4 separate regions of the Homo sapiens genome follow, and regions 1, 2 and 3 are each linked to region 4. The links are contacts of gene promoters, found by promoter capture Hi-C in blood cells and fetal thymus (Javierre and others, 2016). All regions are on one chromosome and are shown on one strand. The core of a region is centred on a gene start or on the middle of the fragment in contact, and the rest is flanking DNA. Distances in the headings are between cores, read along the strand shown.

The links. The method cuts DNA at HindIII sites, captures the fragments that hold promoters and counts their contacts. A CHiCAGO score of 5 or more calls a contact.
Region 1: a fragment that was not itself captured here is called in contact with the fragment with the promoter of NTNG2 in region 4 in 1 of 17 cell types (endothelial precursors); the score reaches 6.6 in endothelial precursors.
Region 2: a fragment that was not itself captured here is called in contact with the fragment with the promoter of NTNG2 in region 4 in 4 of 17 cell types (endothelial precursors, M1 macrophages, M2 macrophages and 1 more); the score reaches 7.2 in endothelial precursors.
Region 3: a fragment that was not itself captured here is called in contact with the fragment with the promoter of NTNG2 in region 4 in 4 of 17 cell types (endothelial precursors, M1 macrophages, M2 macrophages and 1 more); the score reaches 8.4 in endothelial precursors.

Annotation. Positions count from the first base shown.
Region 1 is chr9:131,869,411-131,872,488 of GRCh38, forward strand. The region is part of intron 6 of MED27 (mediator complex subunit 27); the gene reads right to left. Among named protein-coding and RNA genes, the nearest start is that of RAPGEF1, 130 kb to the left of the region's middle. The HindIII fragment of the contact is 479 bases long and covers 1,408-1,886 here.
Region 2 is chr9:131,828,752-131,831,668 of GRCh38, forward strand. No RefSeq gene overlaps it. Among named protein-coding and RNA genes, the nearest start is that of RAPGEF1, 90 kb to the left of the region's middle. The HindIII fragment of the contact is 6,586 bases long and covers 1-2,917 here.
Region 3 is chr9:131,810,353-131,813,523 of GRCh38, forward strand. No RefSeq gene overlaps it. Among named protein-coding and RNA genes, the nearest start is that of RAPGEF1, 72 kb to the left of the region's middle. The HindIII fragment of the contact is 6,192 bases long and covers 1-3,171 here.
Region 4 is chr9:132,160,741-132,163,672 of GRCh38, forward strand. NTNG2 (netrin G2) reads left to right here and starts at 1,318. Exons shown (of 8, transcript NM_032536.4): 1 at 1,318-1,499. LOC124902291 (a long non-coding RNA gene) reads right to left here and starts at 960. Exons shown (of 2, transcript XR_007061826.1): 1 at 876-960. The HindIII fragment of the contact is 8,295 bases long and covers 1-2,932 here.

The DNA.
Region 1 (3,078 bases), core at 397-2,896, 290 kb before region 4:
GCTATTAACTAATTTAAATCCACTCTGTGGCAGCCGAGGTTCGGTCCCATTGTGCGGCAAAGCTAATGAGATTCCGCTGGGAGATAAAAGCCGCCCTCCCCCTTGGCGGAGGCCAGGAAGGGCACTAATGCTCCCAAGGAGAGGGAGGCGATTCACCCACCAGTGAGTGCAGGTTTGAAAAAAGGCTTGTAAAAACATCAAAGGGATGCAAGCCCAAGGAAAGGGAGGGAGGAGAAGGCAGGAGGGTAGCAATAAACCAGTGAGGCAGGGGTCCCTGAAGCAAGAGGAATGCGGGGATGGGGAGACAGGCCTCACAAAGAGGGGCAGAGGGTGATGCAGGGAGGGGTTTCACTGGGAGGCGCCTGGTTCACCCCAAGGCAGAGAAGTCTCAGATGCCTCATTTGGGGTGTGTCCCGTCTCAATGGTGACCTGCAGTGATTTACTTTGAGAAGGGTGACATCTCCATTGCCTGCCAACAGATCCAGTCCACTTGATCAATGTTCCTTTCAGTTTTCCCTACCCTCTCTCAGCATATCCAAACCCAGGAGAGAATGGAGCTTAGGGAGGGAGTAGGGACTCTTTCAAGAGACCTTGAAACAGCTGCCAGTCAACGTGCTGGAAAAGGAGATGCCAGTCAAAACAGTCTCCCAAAGCTCCTCTGCCATATTGTGTGCATGGAGCTCCTGACAGCCCCCCTCCTACAATCAGAGCTGGAGGGTGCTTTGGAGATCATGAGTTATTTTAGCTAAACCCAGAGTGGCACTGCTTGCAATAACAGCAACAACCCACATCGCCATTTACTGAGCACTAATCCTGTGCAAGAGCTGGTCTACGCTGCACAGCTCAGGGTGTGTGGCTCCTCCAACAGGAGCCCAGCCTCTGGATCTGTCCCTTGTGAGCTGTGTGACCTTGGGCGAGGATTAAATGGGCCGATGCAGGGACAGTGCACTGACATACAGACCTCAAGTGTACGACGCATGGCAAGCGCCCGCCAAATGTGTCCCCTCGTGGTTTTAGCCCGCTGAATCCCCACGATGACCTTATGACAGAGGTACTCTCACGTTTGGGACTTCTAAGTCAGGGGGCTAAGTCACAGGGAGGTTAAGTGACTTGCCCAAGCCAAGGAGCTGCTAGGTGGCACAGCAGGAGTTTGTTCCGACCTTCTGAACCCCAGCTTGAGTGCCCAGACTCTATGCCCCAAGCCTCATGGGCCCCCCACTCCAGGCCTCTTGGGGTGGACAGGGGTTGTGGGGGGATGAAGAAAAGTGCCATTTCCAGGCCCTCTCCTCCCCAGAAGGGACTGGACCTCAGCACTTTGAGGGTGGAGATGGGATTGGATAACAAGTCTCCTCACTTACACCCCAGTTCCTGTCACTTATACAATGTTCCTTCCACCTCTCAGCCAGAAGCTTCAACCTGTCTGGCTCCCTGCTATGTGCTGGCCCCAACCCTCCAAACGGTCTGACAGAGACACCGGTGGGCCCTCAAGAAGACCTCCAGATTGAATGAGTCTCCCTGCTGTGGACAAAGAAGGGGAAATCGGGCAAATACAAGGCGGCTGCATCAGGTGGGCATGCCCACACATTCATCGAGGGAATGAAAAAGTGTAGTGTGAGAAAAGGTGCAGGGCGGGGAGAGTGGGATGGTCCTACTGTGGACCCCAGATTCAGTGTGCATCCCACTGTGTGCCCGGGATTCAGTGTGCATCCTACTGTGAGCCCTGGATCCAGGTGTGCGTCCTGCTGTACGCCCCGGATTCGGTGCTCACCCTACCATACACCCCACATTCGGTATGCAGCACCCACACGCTTTTTCCTACTCAGGCCCTCTCCTGCGGTGGGGGCAAAGATAACAGGTTTAGGCCTAGCAAGATGATTTCTCACTTAAGCTTAACTCCCAGATTCCAGGTTTTATGTTGACCAGATAGAGGTTTGTTCTGTAGCAGTAAGGGAAGAATAAAGGACACTGTAATGACACAGAAAGGACTGGGGAGAAAAACCCTCTTAATACACTATTGTCCTCAGCAGTTTCCTCTTTAAAAAGCAAGGGCCTGTTGGGCTCCTTGAAGGGGAAAAGTTAAGAAGATGGCAATGCCAGTCACCAGCCTGGTACAGGAACAACGGCACCATTCACAGCAAGACCCTTGTCCTCTGTTTCAGGGGTGACCTTGTACTTGTCACCCATGCTGGAGTGTGGTGGTCTGATCACAGCACACCGCAGCCTCGAACTCCTGGGCGCAAGTGATCCTCCTGCCTCAGTCTCTCAAATAGCTGGGACTACAGACACACACCCCCACGCCTGGCTAGTTTTTTAATTTTTAGTAAAGACGAGGTCTTGCCATGTTGTCCAAGCTGGTCTTGAACTCCTAGGCTCAAATGATCCTCCTGCCTCCCAAAGTGCTGGGGTTATGGGCCAACCTTGCACCTCTTTCCTATCTTTTTTCCTCCGAATTTTCTGAATACTTTCAACTTGGGGTATTTGATTTGATTTAAATGGAAACTTACAGTTCCTGCCAGGCATTCTAAAACAGGGGCCCTTGTATTTCTCAGTGATCCAGGGATTGTCCTCAGGGGCTCCCGAGTGCCCAAAGGTCATGGGCATCATCTGGCCCCAGGGGGCATGCTCCTGGGCCGGAGTGGAGGCTGGCGACGCAGCATGCAGGTGAGGAACAGACGCTGGAGGCTGACTGCTGGGAACCGCCTTCCAGCTCCTGGCTGGTGGACCAGGCTGGGGACCAGGACCCAGGAGTTCACAGGCTCCCTGAGATGATTTTGGGTGCAGGTTCAAGGGCCGCTGCGGGCCACTGCCTGCTTCCCACCACCAGGGGACAGGACTGTGGCCGAGCAGCGCCTGGGGGAGCTGAGCTTGAACAGAGACGCTCTTCCTAACGCACCTGCTGAGGGCATTATCTGCCAGCACACAGCCCCCGAGGCCAAGCTAGAAGAGCGGGCGCCTCTACTATTCGGAGTATTTCCTCACAAGATTAGTAAACAGGGAAAGTTAAGTACTCAAGTGTTTAGAAGTTGCTTATTTAAAAGAGAAGCCTGGTAGGGACCCAGACTGTGGCTTCCCTCCAGC
Region 2 (2,917 bases), core at 119-2,618, 330 kb before region 4:
AGGTTTAATTAAACCAAGGTGTGCCTGACCCTGTCAAATCATATAAAAAAAAGGCCTCTTTGCTGTATGAGGAAAAACATCAGCATAAATTATTGATTAATCCTCATTCAAACTAATCTATCAATGACTTTCTCTGGCTTGGTGGACCTGGGGAGCTCTTAGATGTTTCCATGCAAACGGCATCTGAAAGCTCCATTTCAAAGTGATCTGAGGCCCATTTAAAGCAGTCAGCAGCCAGTGGGAGCTGCCCCTGAAATTCTGAAGTGCGACCGTTCACTCTGGCCTCAGTTCAATGGTGCCTAGATGTGTCCTGTCTGGGCAGTGAGTTCCATCTGGTCCCTACGCCTGGGGGTGGGGAGTTCACAGTTCAGTGGGGGGCAGAGGAGATGACAAAGACAGACACATACAAAAGACATGCTGATATACTTTGGTGAGGGCTAGATACTGTATGATACAGGCATACTATGCACTGTATGATACAGGCATACAGTGCGTAAACCTCTAATCATACAGAAACCTCTTGTAATCATACAGAGGTCTAATGTTTAAACAGAATGGACGAAGAGAGCAGAGCAGCTTATGTGGATACATTTGAGAATTAAAGGAAATAGGCAAAGTATTTTAAAAACACAACTTACCAAAGCTGTCACAAGAAAAAAAAAACATATCCATTAAGGAAATTGAGCCCCAAATTAGGAACGATCGGGCAAAGAAAACTCCAGGCCTAGATGACTTCCCTGGTGAATTCCACCAAACACTGAAGGAAGAAAGGATCCCAGTCTTACATCAAATCTCCCAGAGAAGACAGAAAGCAGGAACACTGTCTAACTCATGTTATGAGTCTAGCAAAACTTTAATGCTAAATTCTGATGAAGACATTACAACAAAGAAACATCATGGGTCAACTCTTCCCATGAAAATGGATGTGAAAATCCTTAAAAAATATTAGCAAGTCAAATAAAACAATATCACAACCAAGTGGGATTTATTTCAAAATGCAAGGTTGGCTTAACAGTCAAAAATCAATCACATGGCCGGGCATAGTGGCTCATGCCTGTAATCCCAGCACTTTGGGAGGCTGAGGCGGGAGGATCACTAGAGGTCAGGAGTTTGAGACCAGCCTGGCCAACATGGTGAAACCCCGTCTCTACTATACAAAAAAATTAGCTGGGTGTGGTGGTAGATGCCTGTAATCCCAGCTACTTGGGAGGCTGAGGCAGGAGAATCGCTGGAACCTGGGAGGCGGAGGTTGTAGTGACCCAAGATCGCACCACTGCACTTCAGCCTGGGTGACAGAATGAGACTTTGTCTCAAAAAAGAAAAAAAAAAAAATCACAGACCAGGGTCAGAGGCTCACGCCTATAATCCTAACACTTTGGGAGGCCGAGGTGGGAGGATTGCTTGAACCCTCCAGGTTGGAGAGCAGCCTGGGAAACATAGTGAGACCCTGCCTTTACTAAAAATAAAAAAAAACTTAGCTGGACATGGTGGTGCACACCCATAGTCCTAGTTACTTGGGAGGCTGAGGCAGGAGAATCACTTGAGCCCAGGAGTTTGAGGCTGCAGTAAGCTGTGTTTATGCCACTGCACTCTAGTCTGGGTGATAGTGAGACCTTGTCTCAATAAAAAAATAAAAAACAAAAAACATAATAAAAAGAAAAATTGGCTAGGTGCAGTGGTTCACTCCTGTAACCCCAGAACTTTGGGAGGCTGAAGTGGGAGGATCAGTTGAGGCCAGGAGTTTAAGGCCAGTTTGGGCAACATAGTGAGATCTTGTCTCTATATAAAAAATTTAAAAAAAGAAAAATCATATGATCATCTTTATCGATGCAGAAAAATTATTTGATGGCGTAGGCATTTATTTAAAAAGATGTAGGCCGGGCGCAGTGGCTCACGCCTGTAATCCCAACAGTTTGGGAGGCCGAGGCGGGCGGATCACCTGAGGTCAGGAGTTTAAGACCAGCCTGGCCAACATGGTGAAACCCCATCTCTACTAAAAATACAAAAATTAGCCGAGCGTGGTGGAGGATGCCTGTAATCCCAGTTACTCTGGAGGCTGAGGCAGGAGAATTGCTTGAACCCAGGAGGTGGAGGTTGCAGTGAGCCAAGATTGTGCCACTGCACTCCAGCCTGGGCGACAGAGTAAGACTGTGTCCCAACCCCCCCAAAAAAGATGTAAACATATGCTTATTGACATTAAAAGAAGCTCATGATATGCCAGCAAGTAAAAGAGCCAGTCAGAAGATGGCATATAATATCATCCCATTTTCTTGTAATAAAAAAAATCTGTATCTGTCTCTGAAAGGGTTTACCTCAAAATAGTAATTGTGCTTATTATCTCTGGGTGCTGAAAAATTTTTATTTCTTCTTTGTATTATTCTTTATTTCTTGCTTTTTAAAATAGTGAACATGTATTATTGATGTAATAGTTTTTTAAAAACAACTTATTAAAAGAAGAACGTTATAGCCCATTTTTCTGCCCTGGAAATTCACTAGAGAAAAGCACGAAGAGAAATTCCAACAACTGACAGGGCTCTTATTTGTAGGCCACGGAAATAGTTTCCAGCTGATTTAAGCAGAAAATGAATTCATTCCAAGGGCACTGGGACTCCCAGAACCTCTGGAGGCCAGAGGACCCAGCTCGGAGCCCGTGAGGCTGGGAGGGAAGAATGGGCTCCAGCGGAAGTGGTTGGTGAAGACACCACTGCCATCGCTGCCCGGCCTGAGCTGTGTGGGGGTTTCTCCCCTCCGCTGCCACCAGGCAGCACCACCCCTCGGGCACCGCCATGTGCCTTGGTGTCCAGGGTCGCCACCCATCCCAGAACGGTTCCCCTCGGTCCCTGGTTCCCAGCACGTGCCTTGGTGGAGGCGGGGGCAGCGGCTGCCAATGGCCGTCTGGGATACATGTGCACATTGG
Region 3 (3,171 bases), core at 510-3,009, 350 kb before region 4:
CAAGCTGCAAGGAGATGGAGCCCAGCTACACAGAGCAAAGACGTCGTTCCCCAGGCTGTTCATCGCTGGAGCCCACCGCACTCTGGGTCTCAGTGCTTGGCCAGGCGTCGGGGAAACTCAGCTTGACCGGGATGTCTCCCCCGCGGTGCTCCAGGCCCTCGAGGACTCAGTGCTGACCGTACCTGGAATGAATGAACATGTGCCAGGCGGGGGCAGGGGGATCTCATCACCAGAGCTGGTCACATACGGGCTTTCAGTCCCTCGCTCACACCACAGCTGGCCGGTTGCATGGGACAAGGCCCCGGGATTCCCTGAGGCTGAATGAGCTGGAGCTGCCGGAGGTGTGGGCAGGACGGAGGGTGGGTGGCCTGTGTGTCACTGGGATTAGGCTTCCTGGGCCATCACCTGCTTCTCCTAGGAGAGGGGTGACAGCGTGAGGCTCAGCAGGGCAAGTGCCACCCAGAGGCCAGATGCAGCAAAAGAGTAAGCAAAATCCCTTGAGGGTAGGGTGGGAAGAGTTGCTGTAAAACCTGTGCACTTTGCTCAGACAGGACTGTTACAGCTATGAGGAGAAACGAAGGTGTCTGCAGCCAGCCCGCAGCAGAGCAGACGAGCTCTTGAGCAGGCACCTGCTCCTGTTAGGGGTGGACCCTTGGTAGCAAAGAGACAACAGCTGTCAACAAAATAAATGAGGGCTGGATGTAGTGGCTCACACTGGTAATCCTAGCATTTTGGGAGGCTGAGGCGGGCAACATAGTGAATATTCATCTCTAAAACAAAACAAAACAGAACAAAACAAAAAAGGAGGTGGGTATGGGACCGTGCATTTTGGGGCCATTTAGTGCAGGAGAAGCACTGGGCAGAACATGTAGCTATTAATGAATGTGCTTATCATGTCAACGCCTCCCCACATGCAATAGCCCATAAATTCTGTTTTTCTTTTTTCTTTTTTTTTTTTTTGAGATGGAGTCCTGCTCTGTTGCCCAGGCTGGAGTGCAGTGGCACAATCTCAGCTCACTGCAACCTCTGGCTCTCAGGTTCAAGCGATTCTCCTGCCTCAGACTCCCAAGTAGCGGGGATTACAGTCTCCTGCCACCATGCCCAGCTAATGTTTTTGTATTTTTTAGTAGAGATAGGGTTTCACCATGTTGGCCAGGATGGTCTCGAACTCCTGACCTCAGGTGATCCGCCCGCCTTGGCCTCCAAAGTGCCGAGATTACAGGCATGAGCCACTGCGCCTGGCCAATTGCCAATAAATTCCAATGTTTTTAGGATCAGGCCCGCCATCCTCACCACGTTCCATCATAGCCTCATCTCATGCCTCCCTGTCTGGAGCCACTCTGACCTGGTTCCCGGAGCCCTCCGTGCTCTGCCTCCAACCCCGAGGGCCTTTGCACTCACAGTCCTTTCTGCACAGTGCTCTCTCCTCCCTTACCTCAGCTGCTGGCCTCTCTCTATGGACACCCTGGGGATCGGATGTCAACCCCAGCCCTCCCTGACCCCGGGGCCGGTCCACGCTGCTTCATCCTGGGTTGTCACCAATGCTCACCCCTTTCCCTCAGGGCGAGCTTTGAGCCTTGAATGCCACCCGGTCTCTCTAAGATTGCTTGATTCATGCCTCGTCTGCCCCACCTGACTGTAGGACCCACTGGAACAGGGATGTCGTCCCCCTTTGTCACTGTTTTACCCTGAGCCCAGCACAAGGCTTGGCTCATAGAGGCTCCCACGAAACTGTTCTCACCTGAGAGTGACCCCGAAAAGTTCAGGACACTGGCATGGAAAAGGCGACTGCTTCTCACGAGGCCAGAGTCCCTGACTTGGAATTCAGCAGTTTAGAGAGGGTTTCCAGACCCAGCCTGAATTCACATTTTCACTCTGGCGCCATTGGCTGGCTTAGCGGGGACCTTGAGAAAGCTGAGTTAGCTCTCCGAGCAGGTGTTGTCACCTATTCCTTGGACAGGGCAGGGGGAGGAGTCGCTGAGATGACACAGCACACAGAGCCCTTGGCACAGATCCTGGCACAGGGGGTGCTTAGTGGCCGGTGGTGGGGGAGGCAGGGCAGCGGTTCTGAGGCCTGGACACCTCTCATCTCTGGCTAGGGGTCAGGTGAGGAATTTTCCCTGGCTGCCCCAAAGCAGCAGCTGCCCGGAGCTGGCAGGGCGGGTGAGGCCCTGCAGAGACCTGGAAGGCGTTCGGGCCACGGGCTGCAGGCACGGTTGGCAGCAGCGGCTCCGCTCCAGCCTGGTGACCTCTGCGAGGAGCTGCCTCTGCTCCCCTCTGGCCACTCTCTGTCCACAGCCAGTACAGCCTTCAGGAAGAACGAGGAGGACTGGAGTCCCCACAGGACGTCAAGCCCTCCCTGTGCCCGGGCTGCCGGCACCTGCCCTGAGCTTCCGCAAGACTGCCCTTTTCCCCTCATCAGACCCCGATAAGATACCCAGCTGCACGTTAACCAGCCGCACTGTGTCCAGTGGCTCACAGCACTGGAGACTCAGTTTCCCCAACCCTCATCTGTAAAGTGGAGATAAGAATTCCTGCTGGATGCAACGAGAAGATGTTTATAAAATTGCCTGGCACAAAATAAGTCCTTAATAACGCTAGTTCCCTTCTCTGTTCCCTGTACCAGCTGCTTTTCCCCTGAAGTGCTCTGTCCCCTCCATTGTAGAAGCAGAAGTCTCTCCCTAGTTTTGGGAACGGATTTCAAACTCCTTCCCACAGAAGAGTTGAGGCACACAGTGGGTTCTCCCCAGTGGGAGGCGGTATTCATTAAAGAGTAGGCTTCGGCCAAAGATATCAGGCAATGATGGTGATATTTCAGGCATTGAGATTTTGAGGCTGGGGCTGCTCTGCCCGTGAGTCACTGGCCTCTGACAAAGGATGAGGTGGCAGGAGGAGGTAGCCAGACCATGCGATGAGGCGTTCAGTCCCAGCTTCTCCACTGCCTAGCGGTGTGACCTTGGCTGGGTCTCCTGACCTCTCTGAGCTTCCTGGTCTGTAACATGTGGGTAATAATCAGTGGTAATTCCCACCTCCCAGGGGTGTGCTGGGGATTACGTGGGCTCTTCCTGCAGCACAGGGCTGACCCATGGCAAGAGTTCAGGGCGTCACAGGTCCTGCCGTTGTTTGAGACGGAGTCTCACTCTGTCACCCAGGCTGGAGTGCAGTGGCAAG
Region 4 (2,932 bases), core at 68-2,567:
TCCTCAGGCCCTTTGTTCTTGATGCATCCAAATGACAGTGCTGGCTGCTCAAGGCTGCAGTGAGCCCACCCCAGGAGGCCAGGAGTGTCCGAAAACCACATGTGCTTCTGGAAGATGTGGAAACTCTCCCAGAAGCCCTGGGAGGCAGGCTGGCAGGAAACCTCCTGGGGATCAGAGAGCCCAGGGCTGCCGGATATGATATTGTGAACTCGGTGGCCTCTGCCCGGGGCTGCTGCTACCGGAGCCCTCCCACACCTGCCTCCCATGCTTGCAGGGGAGGGAGACAGAGAACCCCTCAGCCAGGCCCCTCCTGCCCCACTACTCTGCACTCCCTGCAGAGCTGGCTTGGCTTCGTCAAAAGCAGGGCCCATCAGGGTGGAGGCGGCGATGTGTCAGCTGGTATTCAGGCTCTGGTTGTGCGCTCAGATCGCTCCCCCTCCCCATCTCCCCAAATCCACCCACCCACCCCGGTACCCACTGCTTGGGGCCTTCTGGGTGGCAGCACTTCACAGAGAGAGACCGAGGAGCAGCCCTGAGCCCTTGGCTGTGGGGGGTGGGGGAACTGACTCACTTGGCCCCCCTCCCTCGTGCCGATGGGGCAGCCCCCACACCCATGGGCGCTGGCACCCCGGCAGGCCCCCGGGTTTTGGAAGAGGAAGCTGCAGCCCGGCTGCGCCTGACCGGAGCCGGCTGAGGATGCGCTCTGGGCGCAGGGACCCGCTGGCCCCCGGGCCGGGAGGCGATGTTTAGGCAGCGACCCCCCAGAGGCTGCCGGGGCCACCCTGGCCACGGGCCCGCCGGGACGCCCCTGCTCGCCGCGCCCCTCCCCGGGCCGTGGCGCGTCCCCCGAGCCGCGCAATATTTCCTTCCTGCACCTTTAAGAAGACCGTTGCTCCGTGGTGGGATGGTGTGTTAAAGCCACACAGAGGAAGTTACGCAGCCCGGATCAGACCGAGAGATAAAAGCCCCGATGGTGATCGTGAGTGATGGCAAGAGGATTTAGCCTCGGCATTAACTTGGAGCGGAGTGCAGGGGGGCAGTGAAGCGCCCGCCATCTGGCCCGCGCCGCGCCGGGGGGATGCCCCGGCTCCCCGACGAGACGCCGCGAAGCCCACCCGGGCCGGGGGCTGCCCGGCGCCCGAGCGCGGGTCCTCCCCGGGCCGCCCAGGGGGGCCAAAAAGTTTGCACTTGTTAGCGGCGACCTCCCGCTCAGCCCGGGCGGGCGATGCGGGCGGCGCGGGCGGCCCCCTCCCCCGGCCCGCGTCTCCGGGACGGCTGCGGGCGGCCCCCCCGGCGGCCGGAGGGCTCCCTGGCCCCGATCTGACGGCGGCGGCGGCGGCGGCCACAGCGGCGGGAGCGGCGCGGGGAAGGAGCAGCGGCTCGCAGCCCTCGGCCCGCGCCCCCACCCAGCGCCAGCCCGAGGGGGGAGGCGCAGCGCCGGAGGGTGGCGGTCCTCGGCCCTCCCAGGTCTCCGCGCCGGGAAGCCGCTCCGAGCCGGGGTAAGGCGGGCGGGGAGAGCCCGGGAGGCGGGCGGGGGGAGAGGCTGCAGCTTGGCCAGGCCGGTTTCATTTTTAAAGGGCTTCGGTGACCATGCAGGCTTGCCCGGGCCCGGGAGCCACTTACAGCGGCCCGGCAAAGGCTCGGATGCAAAAGTTGTTTGGTGGCGGCTGCTACGAGCTGAGAACTGGAGTCGCCCCAGAGGGGTGTGTGAGGGTGCGTTCTTAGCAGCATCTTAAAGGGGTAGCTTGTCTTTCTGGCCAGCTTCCCCCGGGTCCTTTCCGTCGTGTGTGTGAGAGTGTGTGTGTGTGTGTGTGTGAGAGAGAGACAGAGTGTGTGTGTGTGTGTGTGTGTGTGTGTGTGTGTGTGTGTGTGTGTGTCGGGGAGGGATGTTGCAAGGATGCTCGGATGTGTCTCGGAAAAGGAAACTAACCCTGCTCCCGCGCCTCTCCCCCACCCCAATTCCACCGCCACCGCTTAGAGCCACCCCCATCCCGTGCCCTCCCATCTCTCTGCAAACTGGGAGCCTGTGAGTTGCACAGAGAAACTCCCGGCCAGTCCGGCTGGAAACTTCTCCCGGCGCCGGGAGGGGGTCGGGAGGTGAGGGGGCGCAGGCACTGGTTTGGGGCCGGCGTGGAGTCGAACCTGGAACTGAGCGGCGCGCAGGTGGGGGGAGCAGAGGCGGCGGGAAGGCGGGAAGAGAGGACCGCGGGCTCGCGGGGTCCGCCCGCTCCGGAGTAAGTTGGCCGTCTGGGCTGGGGGCGGCGGCGGCCGGGTCGCCACAGGCGGCAGCGCCGGGGCAAAGGATACAGCCAGTTCCTGGGCGCCCTGCTCTGTGTCTTTTAATTAAGAGAGGCAGTGCCGAAAAAGGGGGCGCCTCAGTCCCGGCCGGGCCTTTATTACGGGCTTAATTATTAATTGCTGCCGTGGCTTGCACGCAACTTTGGGAAGACGAAAAGCAGCTGCGGGGCTGCCGGGTCGTCGGTGTCCTAGGCACAGGGCTCGCAGCCGGCCCGAAGCACTGACTCGACCCTGGCCCCGGCCTCGACCCCGCCCGCGGCCCGCCGGGACCCACCCGGGAGCTGCTGCTCGCGCCCCGCCTCCCGCGCCCAACTTTCCAGGGCTCCCGCGGGCGGGGACCCAGGGGCCGGATAAAGGGCCCGCTCCGGAGCGGGGGGACACCCGGGCCGCCGGAATTAAGAGGCCCGCCGAGGCTACAGTGAGCGCGGGGCGCCCGCTGGACCCCGCCCGGGGCAGAGGACGGGAAGGTGACCCCGCCGGCCAAGCTCCCTTTCCCTCCCGGCAACCGCCACTCTCCCCTGAAAGCAGATTTCACCCCCCTCTGCCGCCCCTGCCGAGGAGGGAGAGGGAACCCCGGGGTGGGCTGAGTATCCCCCCTAGCCCCGGGAGCCCCCAGCGCCCTCCCTCCCGTGCC